Regions from separate parts of the Homo sapiens genome. Here region 2 is linked to region 1. Evidence: promoter capture Hi-C in human tissues and cell types (Jung and others, 2019). All regions are on one chromosome and are shown on one strand. The core of a region is centred on a gene start or on the middle of the fragment in contact, and the rest is flanking DNA. Distances in the headings are between cores, read along the strand shown.

Region 1 (7,104 bases), core at 691-3,190:
TGCCTGGTGTCCCAGTTACTTGAGAGGCTGAGGCAGAATGATCACCTGAGTCCAGGAATCCAGCCTGGACAACATAGTGAGACCCCCATCTCAAAAAAAAATAAAAATAAAAGAGAGAGAAGAGAGAGACCAGAGCAAAAGAGAAAGATGTGACAACAGTTCATTCAATAACATTTATTGAGCACCTACTGTGTGCATGCAGATGTGACAGCAACAGTGTCCCAGACCAAAACAACCTGTGGACAACTAAGTAGGTCTGACTCCAGAGATGAACAGCACACACCAGAGCCTGGAGGAAGAGGCAAAGAAGGAATGGGAACTGGAGCAAACAGCAAAAGTGAGTCAGAGCGGGAGGAGAGAACCAAAAGTGAAGAGATGCACCTGGAAGGCTGGCCTCTGGTCTCTGAAAGCATGAAAGAGTGGAGGCTAAGAATAGAGAGGAGAGGGGAAGAGAGAGATGGAGAAAAGGAAGGCGATAGAAAGGCAAGGCTGGAAGAGATCAATGAAGGGAAATAAACCAAGAGAAGGACGTAGGGGAGGGAACAGACTGGCACAGTGGAGAATACATCTCAAAATAAATAAATGAATGATGGAGTTTAGTAGGAGGGGCCAGAGGGGCAGCCAGCAGGAGAGGTGATTCCAATCATCAGCAAGACGGACTAGGGTGTGGAGATGGAGATGGAAATTGGGGAAGGAGGCGAGGAGGAGAGAAGGATAGGGGCGAGGTAGAGCTGGGGGTCCTGGAGGGCCCTGCCCCCTCTTTGCCATGAACTTCAGCAGCTGCTTGTGGGTGATTAAATGGCTGGTCATTGGCAGCTTGGCGGGACAGAGGTCTGCAGCTGTCCAGTCTCCTGTTATCCTTCACTCACCTATCTGGAAGCCATGGGGAATAGGGGGGCGGGCAACTCCTAAGGGGACCTACAACCCAAGACAAAGGGTGGGTCTATGGGAGTCACTGGTCCTATCCTACCATCAACGACCTCATATTGGGAACTCAGGAGTGGGGTGGGAGGGTCTCCTCCATTAGGCCTCATCCCAGAGAGATGAAGTAGTAAGGAGAGCCAGGCAGCCAGGAGAAAGAAACAGGGCCAGGTGGAAAAAACATCAGGGAGCAGACCAGCCGGATTTTTAAAAGAACGGAAAACCCAACCAGCAAGGAGTTTCTGGGCAGTGGGAAGATTTTATTGGGAGACTTCTCCAGGTCAAGGTGGCACCAAGTTAAGGATGGAGGTGTCTTGTTTTGCCTGCTTACTTTGTTGGTTGCAAGGATGTCCAGCGGGACTCTCCAGAGGAAAAGCCCACAAGTTTCTCTCCCGGGGACACCCGACCTCCCACCTGCCTGGAGACTCAGCCCTGGGCACCTGGTCGGTGTCCACCTCAATGCACAGTGACTGTTTCTGAACTGGCAGATCTGGTCTGTGCAAGGTGCCTTTCTGGGCAGCAAGCCGGGGCGGCCACTGTTCGAGAAGCCTGCTCCTACCCTGGCCTGCGCCCCTGCTCCTCTGAAGGCGGCCTCCCGCAGTAGTCAGGGGGCGGAAATGGGAAGCCCTATTCGCAGTAAAATCAGGTGGGGAAATAGGCTCTGGTCTCAAACTGCGGCCACCTGGGGAGCTGCCAGGCGAGGAGGTAGATGGTCCCCCTCCTGGGGGCGCTCCCTTCGCGCGGATCTGGGGTTGGAGGAGGGAGGGGCACTGTCCCCTGGGGGGTTTCCTGGGACTGGGCCGCCCGAGAGAGGGAAAGGCTGTCCCCTCCTGGTGTAGGAGGGGCGCGATCCGGGGGGCGGGGGCTGGGGTTCCCCGGCTGCGGGGGTCCGGGCCGGCGGCCGCCTGCGGCTTGGCGCTGCGCGGCTCCTGCCCGGCGGGCCCTGCATTCTCCGAGTCTCCACCAGAGGCTGCGGGAGGAAGGAAGGGATCCGTCCCTTGCACACTTCCCCCCAGTCAGACACGCACACTCCCTCGCTCCCGCTCGCTCGCTCACTCCCTCGCTCTCTCGCTCTCTCGCTCTCTCGCTCACACACACGCGCGCACACGCCGCCGCGGCTCCCCCTCTCGCTCCCGCTCTCCCTCCGGCTCCTGCGGGCGGCCGCGGGGCTCCGGACTCGCCCGCTGCCCGCGCCGGGGCTCCCGCCCCACGCAGCGTCCCGAGGCGGCAGGACTAGGGGGAGCCCCGGGCCGCTCCCCGAGGTAAGAGCGCGGGGTGCCGCGGGAGGAGCGGCCGGATCGCCGCCGAGGGGAGGCTGCCCGGCAGGGAGGGAGCCCCCTGGCCGGCGGGAGCGGCCGGGCAGGCGGCGCGGGGGGCGAGCCTCCAGCCGCAGGAGGAGCCGGGGTGCCTGCGCCCGGCCCTGCGCGCCCCCTCCTCTCGGCCGGGAGGGCGGGGAGGGAGTTTCCCACGTCCAAACTTTCCCCGGCGCGGAGCCGAGCCGCCTCTCGGCCCGAAGCCCGCAGCTCCCACCCGTCCCCACAACCTCGTCCGCCGCGCGCCCGGGAGCCTCCGGGACCCCCGCGGGCCGAGGGGTGGCAGCGCCAGGGGCCGAGCCGGCGCGCCAAAAGGGGCTGGGAAGGTGGCGCACAGCCCTGACGCGAGGGCTGGGACCCAGGCGTTCCCGGTCCCCCAACCCTGCTAGCGGGGCTCGGCTCCCCGGCCCCTCCCAGAGGCGGGGTCCGGGGCCGGGAAAATACCGCACGGCGCGAGCGTGTGCGCGCGGTGTGTGTGTGCGAGGTCGTGCCGCGTCCGGGGACACCCGGAGGCTGACTCCAGCCGCGGCGACACGCACGGTTCTGGTCCCCTCTGAGCCGGGGAGGCGGCCCACAGGGACCCCTGCCGGCCCCACCGGCGCGACCCCCCCTGCCCTATGGCCGTCGGGCGGGCTGGCGGTGAGCGAGAGCCAGCGCTGCTCTCTTCCTTAGGACCCGACTCCGGAGACACCGTCCCCGCTGGGGAAGAAGGACGGGGCCCCCGACAGCCTAACGTCCAAAGAGAGCGCCACTTAGGGCTAACCCTCGGGGGCCGCGGCGTTTACTGTGAAGAGTGGACTGCGTGGGCGCGCGGGGTGCCGGGCAGCCCTGGGTGGGCACAGTGTGGACCCGTCTCGCTCGCGCCTCCCCGCTGCCTCTTCTCTGGCAACGTCGGGCCCTGTCCCAGGCGGGGCTGCAGAGGGTAGGGCTGATCCAGGATCCCCCGAGGTCTCCCCGAGGTGCAGGGCACCCCCTTGTGGCGGGCAGAGAAGCTGCTGTTTGAAGCTGCTCAGGTCTTCCGAGGTGCTCGCTCCTTGGAACCTCTTCTCTCCAAACCCTTCGGGCGTCGCCAGGGTTGCGCATGCCAGCTTCTTTTTCCGTGGGGCTGATTCCAGCACTCCCCAGGTTTCTGGGGCTGGCCGAGGTGCCCCCAGCACAGGCAGCGGCTCATTTGAGGGCTTTGGCTGTTGCCAGCTCTCTCTCCCTCTCCACCCAGGTTCAGGATCTCATCCTCTTCTCCCACTGGTCAGCGCCAATACCCTATATCAGCATCACCACTGCCCTAGGGCCCAAAGGCTCCTCCCTAACCACCGCGACTCTCTGTCCTTCATTTGTATCCCGTATATGTGTCCATCAGTGCCCACTCCGTCCCCCTCAGTTGCCCCTAGTCTACAGCCCTTGTTGAAACTTGGCCTCTACACCCATAGTGACATCCTTTGGTCTTTGCCCACCAATGACCATTTCCTCGTCCCCCCCAACCCCGACCCATCTTCTATCCTGTCTGCCTCAGTTTTTCTGTAGCACTCAACTGTTCCCTGCCCCAGCCATTTCTCTACTTCACCCTTATTTCCCTCCTTGTCCCAGTGTCTGGGACACTCCTCTTCCATTCCTCCTGGAAGGGAAGGGCATTGCCAACATTTAAACACTGCTTCCTGGAGATGTCTGTGTGCCCTTCCCGGTCCACCACTGCCAGTGCCTCGGGGGCAGGTACTTTATAAAGCCAGCCAGGTCTCTCTCAGCTAAGGGGCACCTGTACCTCTTGGGTGGCCCCATCAGGGGACCCCTGGAGACAACCCCTTTCCCTATTCCTAACTGTGAGCAGCACATTGGAGACCACCTGGGCTGCCCTCTTTTCCATTTTCAAGGATTGGCAACAGCAGCCCGAGGTCACATGGTAAGCTATACCCAGAGCCGGAATAGGAACCCAGGCATCTTGACATCCAGGCCTCACCAACGCTGCTTATGTGTTGGGTAGGCCTGGGGCAAAACAGAGCCGTTTCTTGGCTTCACGCTGCAGGCAGGACAAGAAGACACTTGCTCTAAATTCAGCATGAGGTGTTCAAGTTAGACCCCCAGTGCTCCCAGGCCAGTGCCGGAGGAAAGCTGTTGAATGCCTTTAGCAGAGACGCCGAGTAGCAGAAGCAGAGGACAAAGTTTGGCCCCTAAAAGTGTGTTGTGACCTCCGGGTGAGTCACAGCCTTTCTGTCAAAAGGGTGGCTGTGATCTCTGGATGTTTCTGGTCGTGCTCTGGAATAATCATACCTAGAGGTTGGAACCCCCAAAGCCCCTGCTGCTTCCCCAGGCACTGGTCTTTCTGAGAGCTTTGCAGGAGCGCTGCATTCTGAAGTTGTCTGACAGGGGGCCGGGCCATAGCTAAGGCAGGGAGCCCAGGAGGGCCCGTCTCCTCCCGAGTTGGCAAAGTTCGGAGCAGCCAGTTTATTTACCACATGGGCGATAAGAGTCAGCCAATTAAACTTCCTCTCCTCTCTCTCTCTGTTCTTCCCCCTCCCCTTTTTCTTCCATCAGGAAGCTCCAATCTGAAATGCAGCCTCAGGTAGAGTGAGAGAGAGTGAATGATTTCTGTTTATATAACACGGGTAGCAGCTGGCACTGCATGGCCTGGGAGGGAGTGAGGGAATAGAAGACCCTACGGTGGTGTCTGGGCTGAGGCCCCGGGGCCAAGGACTTCCTCATTCCTCCCCATAGCTGAGCCAGGAAGGGTGCTAGGGGCTGGGGACCAGGTGGGGAAACAGGCTGAGAGGAAACCCAGGCCTCAGGTCAGGCTCAGAGAGAAAAGCCTCATGCCCCCCGCAAGAGTGGGCACACCCTCCACCCCGGGTTCCTCAAAGCACCTTTAAGATGGAGCTCTCAACTCAGGCCTCTCCTTCCTACAACCTTGTGTTTTGATTCTGGCCTCTCTAGAGAAAGCCTAGATATTTCACCACGAGGACAGGCTCTGACCTCAACTTTTCATCAGGGCAGTGGGCATGATAGGACTGTCTTTCCGCCCATGGAGGAGACAAGGCCTAACAAGAAAGTTGTCTGTGGAGTGATTTGAGCTCTGTGTATCTGGCAGGAGGGACGTTTTCTCATTGTTGATGATACACAGTGGCTGCTTGGAAACAGAGGTGCAGGACAGGAAGGCTGGAGGCATGGCTGTTATATGCAGTTGGGCAGGTTGTTGACTGTCCAAGGGCATTTAATGCAGGAGGAGAGCGGGGACTGAAATCTATTTTAAGCTCCACTCTCCAAGTCAGGTGCCCCAAAGACAGGCTGTGCCTGCCTGGAGGAGGGGGCATCTTTCTCTAATTTGCAAAAAGGCTTCATATACTTACCAGCCATGGGCCTATGGGGCTGCTTACCCCCAGAAAAGGATCCCTTTCTTTAATTACTCCAAAGGTGGCCCATCTGGGGGTTAAGGATATATTCACTACTCACTCCTTAGCTCAGCTCTCTTACAATGGGCACACACCTTTCCGAATATGTGGGTCTGATTTCAAACACATGAGGTACAGCAACCTGGAGGAATTCCCTTCTTCCCCCACATTTCCCTCCATGCCCCATCAGCAGGCTCCTTCCTGCTGTCACATTGGGATTAGGCTGGGAACTTCTTGCTTTGTCGTCAGACCCACAAGCCTTCAGCCATCCACTTGTTACCAGCTCTTTCCTGTGCATAATATAAATAGATGATTAAGCGCGTAGGCATTGGAGTCCAACCAGCCTGAGTTTGTGACTTGCTGGCAAGTTACTTTACCTCTCTGAGCCTTAGTTTCTTCCTCTGTGAAATGGAGGAAAATGTAATACCTGTCTCATTGGGTTGTGAAGATCAAATGTGCATGAGCATGTATGGTGCTGAGCACAATGCCTGGCACATAGGACACCCCATACATAAAGCAGTATTGTTATTGCTCATATCCCTCCATTTATATTCCTTGGTTCCCATGGGGTAAATGCAGCAGTTCCTCCTTGTTTGGTTTTGCACATGATCTCAGCTGCCTGCACCCCTGCAGGAGGGGAATTGAGTTAGGACCACCAGGATCTGTCTCTGACTTCAGGATCCGTCTCTGACTTCAGGATCCTTCTTCCTTTGCCTTGAGGAAGGTGGAGTCCCTGCATGCAGCCGGCAGTGTGGGAACATGTTCTAGAGTCCCACAGATTCATTTCATCCTAATCTCTACCTTTTCTCCCCTCTCATCCATCTCGCGATCCCTTCTCCAGCTCAGACCTCACTGGTTCATGCCTAACCTGTTGTGGCAGCCTCCTCCCTGGTCTCCCAGCCTCTGATACCCTCCCGCTGCAACCCCTGCGGCAACCAGAGCGATCGTTCTCTAACGCAGGTGGGATCGTGTCACTGGCTTGATTAAAACCCTTCCATGGCTCCCCATTGCCTACTGAATTAAGTCCAGACTCGGCACTATGACATTCAAGGTCCTTGTAATCCGTCTGCATCCTCCTTTATCTCCCACTGTGCCTCCAATCTGACACTCCTGCATCCAGCCCCACCTGCCCTTCCACCTGAACAACCTTCCCCGAAGATATTCCAAAGCATTAAGGACCCAACCCAAATAGCACCTCTTCCTTGCATCACCCATCTGCCTGTCTGACCATACATTCATTATCCAGTTTAAAATGTATATATATATATTTACATATAAAGCATTTACATATATTTACATATAAAGCATTACTATGTGTTAAGCATTGTGCTGCATGGTGGAGACACAATGGTGAGCAAGCAGCCTGAATCCCAGCTGACAGGAGTCTGGTGGTCCAGGGAGGAAGATGAACAATTCTCATAACTGTGACAGCCAGTGGGCGGGGCAGCAGAGGCTTCTAGGAGGAAGTGCTGTTGAGGCACACCTGCAGGCTG
Region 2 (6,127 bases), core at 638-3,137, 85 kb after region 1:
TGACAGTCACTCAGACTCCTTAACCTACCTGTCTAGCTAGGAGGCCAGGGATGATGAAGAATTCATAGTGAGGATTGATTGAGATGCCGAGAAGAGAGAATAGGGGGTGGCAGTGAGATCCTGCCAAGGACAAACCTTGGGGGCCAACACGAATCTGCAGGACTAGGTTGGGGGAGGAGGCAGAGTTTCTTTCCATGTAGTAGGATTTATTCATCTAGGCAAGGGGTACCATCAACAGAAACAGGAGGAGTGTAAATTAAGAAAGCTACTAGAGCAGAGGAATGAGTGAATGTGCCCTGGAATCTGATGCAGAGCTAAAAAATTCAGCTTTAACCATATTGGCTTTAAGATGAGCGAAAACAGGGAAAGAAACACCTAGAACTTCTAGCAGGCCATGTGAAATACAGGTGTGGAGCTCCAAGAATGGTTGGGTCTCTTAAAGCTTCAGTTTCCCCATGTGCACAGGGGAGAGAATCATACCCATCTCACTTGATGGTCGTGAGGATTCAATGGGACAGTTCACTCATTCATTCAACCACTATTTATTGAGTGCCTATTATGTGCCTGGCTCTGTGCTAGGCACTAGGAATGCTTCAGTAGGCAAATCTAAGGCTCTGCATTCATGGCACTTTTATTGAAGTAGAGAATATAGAAGATGAGCATGTACACATATAACATAACGTCAAGCAGTGACGAGTGTGAGGACGAAACCTAATGCAGAGGAAGGACTTAGATTAAGACTTCACAGCCAGGCATGGTGACTCATGCCTGTAATCCCAACACTTTGGGAGGCCGAAGCGGGTGGATCACTTGAGGCCAGGAGTTTGACACCAGCCTGGCCAACATGGTGAAACCCGATCTCTACTAAAATACAAAAATTAGCCGGGAGTGGTGGCACATGCCTGTAATCCCAGCTACTCGGGAGGTTGAGGCAGGAGAATTGCCTGAACCCAGGAGGCAGAGGTTGCAGTGAGCCAAGATCGCACCACTGCACTCCAGCCTGAGTGACAGAGCAAGACTCCATCTCAAAAAGAAAAGAAAGAAAGAAGGAAGGAAGGAAGGAAGGAAGGAAGGAAGGAAGAAAGGAAGAAAGGAAGAAGAAAGAAAGAAAAAGAAAGAGAGGAAAGAAAGAAAGAAAGAAAAAGAAAGAGGAAAGAGAAAGAAAGAAAGAGAAAGAAAGAAAAAGAAAGAAAGAAAGAAAGAAAGAAAGAAAGAAAGAAAGAAAGAAAGAAGGAAAGAAAAAGAAAGAGAAAGAAAGAAAGAAAGAAAAAAGAAAGAAAGAAAAAGAAAGAAATCACAACAGGCCTTTCTGGGGAAGTGACCTTGGGGCAGAGACCAAGTGCAGTGAAGGTATGAGCCATGCAGATTTCTGGGGACCAACACTGCAGGCCAAGGGAACAGGAAGTATGTAAAGTGCTCAGCCTGAGCCCCAGCACAAAAGGATAGTGATGGTGATGAGGAAGCCTTCATGCATTCAGCCTGAGGAGGTGGGGACCCTAGGGTTGATAAGCCTTGGGGAGATGGGGAGAAGAAAGAACATAGAAATAAGAGAAGGGCCAAGACTGAGTCTTGGGAGGTGGCAGGGCTGGGCAGATGAAGGATCAGAGAGTGGGGAGGACATGAGAGTGGGAAGGACAGCCAGTTTCTAAGAAACAGCATCCCCCGCAGCAGAGGGCCCAGAAGATGGTGACAACTGGGAGGCCACCGGGCCTGGGGGAGCAGAACAGTTCCCAAGAGGTCAGAAAGTGAGGACCAGGCAAGGCAGTTGAAGGAGTTCAAATGGGGTCCCTGCTCCAGAGCCCCTCAACTCTTCAATCTGAAAGGGTCCTTTCTGGCACGTCCCAGGAAGAACCAGGTTTTGCCTCCCCTTGCCCACAGCCCCATGGCAAGAGCTGCCCTGGTGCCATTCCCAGCCCCAGCTCTAGTTCCCCAGCCAGGAATATTCTGCTGATGCGGGTCTATATTTAGCAGCTGCTGCGAGGTACAGTCTGTTCTTGCTGTGCAGATAGCAGGGAGCAGAGCCGGAACGGGGCCTGGGAGGAAGGTGTGAGGGAAGGGAGGAGGCGGGGCGCCGCGAGGCCCCAATGCCAGAGGAGGAATTAACTTGTGTGTTTTAAAGGCCAGGCCTGCCAGCAGGCCCCCCACAGGGGCGACAGGGATGGCATTTGTGTGCTAATGAGGCATCACACGGGCTCCAGGGCCCCTTTTGCAGCATTTGGAGGGGACAGCAGGGGAGGCCAGGACAACAGCTGGAACTGGGGACGATGGGTGAAGACAAGGCTGCGGGAGCTGAGGCCAGGTTATAATTACCAGCCCCCGCCCACCACCACCCCAGCAGGAATAGAAATGTTCTCCGAGATTTCAAGATCTCTGCTGAAAATTGTCAACTGAGCCAGAGTCATCCATTTTACAGGGAGGGAATGAAACTAACATTTGTTGAGCACCTTCTAAGTGCCAGATCCTGGGGTCAGGATAATGAAGTAGACCTGGTTTCTGCCCTCACGGAGCTTCTGCTCCAGCAGAGAAGCAAATGGATAGCTACACCCAGGCTGTGAGAGGGGCAGTGGAGGGGCACTGGGAGTCAGCCAGTCAAAACGTCATTTGAGCACTTGCTGTGTGCCAGGCCCTATAGACACGGGATGAACAAGACCAGCATGGATTTCTGCCTCTGTGAAACTTGTTTATGGAGGTACTCAATCCAGAACTTGAGGAAAGAGATCAGCAAGGCATCTCCAAAATGTGAGGCCTGCTGCTGGAAGCTTCCTCTCATTCAGTCCTCTCAACAGCCCTACCAGGTGGGTGTCTCCATTTCACATAAGAGGAAACAGAGGCTCAGAGAGGCCCAGGAACTTGCCCATGGTCAGCTAGCATGTAAATGGTGGAAAGAAGACTTGAGCCCATATCTGTCTGGCCCCAGAGTCCTCCTGCAGCCTATCTGAGTCTGTGCAGCCCCAGCACCTGTAGTAGGCCCTCGGCAAGACTGTAATGAATGAATGAGTGAACGGATGAAGTCAAAGAGCCAGAAGCTTTCAAGAACAACTTCATGGACTGTTTTGGAATATTTGTACCCCTAGATCTCTCAGAGGGCAATAGTCTCCACCGTGCTTCTCCCAACATCAGGAGGAAGACAGTGGAGTGGAACATAGTAGATAGGAAAATATGTTATCAATTCCTCCCCGCCCTGCACACGGCTGCTTACTAATGTGACTTTGCCACTGTTCTGGGCAAGAGGTGGAGTCTGTTTCCCTACCCCTTGAACCTGGGTTCGCCTGGGACTACTTTGGCCAATAGAATGTGGCAGAAGTGATGTTATGCAAATTCTGACATTAGGCCTTAAGAGACCTTGCAGCTTTCACGTTTACTGTCCTGGAACACAGTCCTGAGACTGCTATGTAAGGAAGCCAGCCTACTGGAGGATGAAAGAACCAATGTGTCCCCGCCGACAGCCAAGACCAACTGCCAGACATGTAAATGAGCCATCTTGGACCTTCCAGTCAGCTGCTCCTCCGGTTTAGGCTCAGATGCGTGAGTAAGCCCAGACAAAATCAGCAGAGGAATGGCCCAGCCAACTGGATTTCTCTATCAGTCATCTAGAGCTATGTAAAAAAAAAAAAAAAAGAAAAAAAAAAACCCAAAACCTGGTAGCTTAAAGCAACAATAATTTATTATTTGTCACAATTTGGTGTGTCAGCTTGGCAGTTATTTTGCTGGGGTCACTCATGCAGCAACAGTCAGCTGTCGGGTCGCTGGGAGTGACTTCACTGGGACAGCTGGCAGGACTAGGCCTCCCTCTCCATGTGGCCTTTTATCCTGGGCTTCTTCACAGTACAATGGTCTCAGGATTCCAAGAGGACAGGCCGCAGCATACAGGGGCTTATCAAACCTCTGCTTTTGTCACACTTGCTGATGTCCTATTGGCCAAAGCACACTTGCTGATGTCCCATTGGCCAGAGTCAGTGTGGGAGGGAATGACCCAAGGGCGTGGATACCGGAAGGTGTGGTTCACTGGGCACTGTCACCATAGCAACCTACCCTGTTCCCTGGATCCCGAGAACAAGGCCCAGGGGGCCCAACTCACACACACCCAGAGATGGCACCTGAATCCTACACACCACAAGGCTTCAGGACCAGTTTCCAAGTGAGAAGAGTGTCGTGTCCCCAGTTCCTCAGGAGCTGGAAGTGACAGGGACAGCAAAGAAGGCAGCCACGTGGAGCCTCTCTCACTCACAGAGGTGGAGCCAGGCCCCTGCTCCAGCCCCCACTCAGAGCTGGGACACTGAGCCTTTGGTGCCCAAGCCCATAGATACACAGTGACTCCACATCCTACCACGAATCCTGTACATTCACTGAGGTCCTGGATGGCAAGTGACCAGCACAAAGCTTAGCACACAGCAAGTGCTCGGCTAAAGTCACTCCCTCTCCACCTTTCCACCTGGGATCCCCTGCTCCCTGGCCTGGTGGCTGCTGCACTGTAAGCCTACCTGCCCTCCCCTCCCCACCCCCCACCATCTTTCTTCACCCTTCCTGCGTCTCCCTCTCTGTTTTCTGTATGTCTGTTCCCGCTCTCTCAGTTGTTCTTTGCCCATTTTTCTTCCCTCCTTTCTTTCTCTTCCTCTTTGTTTCTCTCTAGGTCTCTGTTTCTCTCTTACTGTCTCTTTCTGGGTATCTCTGGCTTTCTCTCTGGTTTATCTACCTCCCCCCGCAATCTTCCCTTCTCTGTTTTTCTGTCCCTTTCAGTCTCCCTCTCTGTCTGTTCCCCTCCCTTCCCCTCCCCTACCTTCCTTTCTTCCCTTCCTCTCTGTCTCTTTCCTCCTGTCTCTCACTAGGTTTCTCCCTGTCTCTCTTTCCCTGGGACTCCTTTTCTTCTTTCTCTCCTCTTCCCTGTCCATCACCTTCGCTCTCTTCCTCCCCTCTGTCTGCCTTCCATTCTCTCTTTCCAACCCCCCAGGGTGGAGAATATGACACACCCCACCTTCCCTGTACAGCCCCTGCTGTCCAGGGCTGCAAAGCCTCAGCGTCCTGGCTATGCACTTTCTACACGTGTGACCTTCAACAAGGTACTTAGCCTTTCCGTGCCTCTGTCTCCTCATCTATAAAACAGGTATAATCACAGGACCTTCCACATATGAATATTGAGAGGATTAAATGAGGCAATTCACCTAAGGTGATTAGAATAATGCCGGACACAGAGCAAATGCACATAAACATTAGTTGTTTTTATTACATGTAATTCTCATGAGATGAAATCCTATACGAGTGGTTCTCAACCAATCTTGCCCCAGGGTCCATTTGACAATGTCTGGAGACAGTTTTGGAACTAAGGCGACGGTTAGTGCTGCTGGCATTTAGTGCCGGGAGGCCAAGGATGCTACTAAATATCCTACAACATACAGGTCACACACACACACACTACAGAGAATTATCCTGCCCAAAATGACTGACTACAGTGCCAAGTTTGAGAAATCCTGTCATTTAAGTCAGTATGGTGGTTGTCCCATTTTACAGATAAGGAAACTGAGGTTCAAAGAGGTGAAGGGATTAGCTCAAAATCACATGACCAAAGAAATGGCAGATCTGGAATCTATCCCAAGGCAATCCACTGCCAAGACTCCCCTGTTCCTGGGAAGACCAGTGGTGGTAGAGAAGGGGTCAGGAGGGGGCCTACTGAGGCGTTGAGAAGGCCACTGATAGATGGTTTGTGTGACCCTTGATTAGGCAGAACACCCATTCCATATCTGCATGTGATCCCACGAAAGCAGGACCACCCCTTAGGTGCCCCACCTCTGGCTACCTACCACAGGTACACACAGAAATACACACACAAACACCACACATACACACACGCCCTACAGCCTCTCCTTCCATTCTGTTGCCTGTATGGGAGTCTGGGGACTGTTGGGGGACATCAGGTGTCAGAGCTTGGGTTTTATGGGGCGCAGCATGGGGCTGCTGGTGCATGACTCCACCTGGCGCACAGGCCCCGGGCACCACCTGTCACCACCTGGTGCTCGGCAGGTTGGAGTGGGTGGTGGGAGAGGCTCTGAATGCCTCATCGACTCCCCCGCCCTACCCTTGTCTCTTCTACTGGCAGGGAGACAAGAAGCCCAGTCTTCCCCACAGCAGAATT

Evidence for each region. Contacts are between HindIII fragments. The study calls those that stand out against the background at their distance.
Region 2: a contact is called between a fragment that was not itself captured here and the fragment with the promoter of CDH22 in region 1, in 10 of the 25 tissues and cell types used here (H1 embryonic stem cells, adrenal gland, aorta and 7 more).

What each region holds. Positions count from the first base shown.
Region 1 is chr20:46,303,334-46,310,437 of GRCh38, reverse strand. It overlaps CDH22 (cadherin 22), which reads left to right and starts at 1,940. Exons shown (of 12, transcript NM_021248.3): 1 at 1,940-2,183. RefSeq lists a silencer at 6,831-7,049. The HindIII fragment of the contact is 29,361 bases long and covers 1-7,104 here.
Region 2 is chr20:46,218,772-46,224,898 of GRCh38, reverse strand. All of the region lies in intron 4 of CDH22 (cadherin 22), which reads left to right. Among named protein-coding and RNA genes, the nearest start is that of CDH22, 87 kb to the left of the region's middle. The HindIII fragment of the contact is 3,632 bases long and covers 72-3,703 here.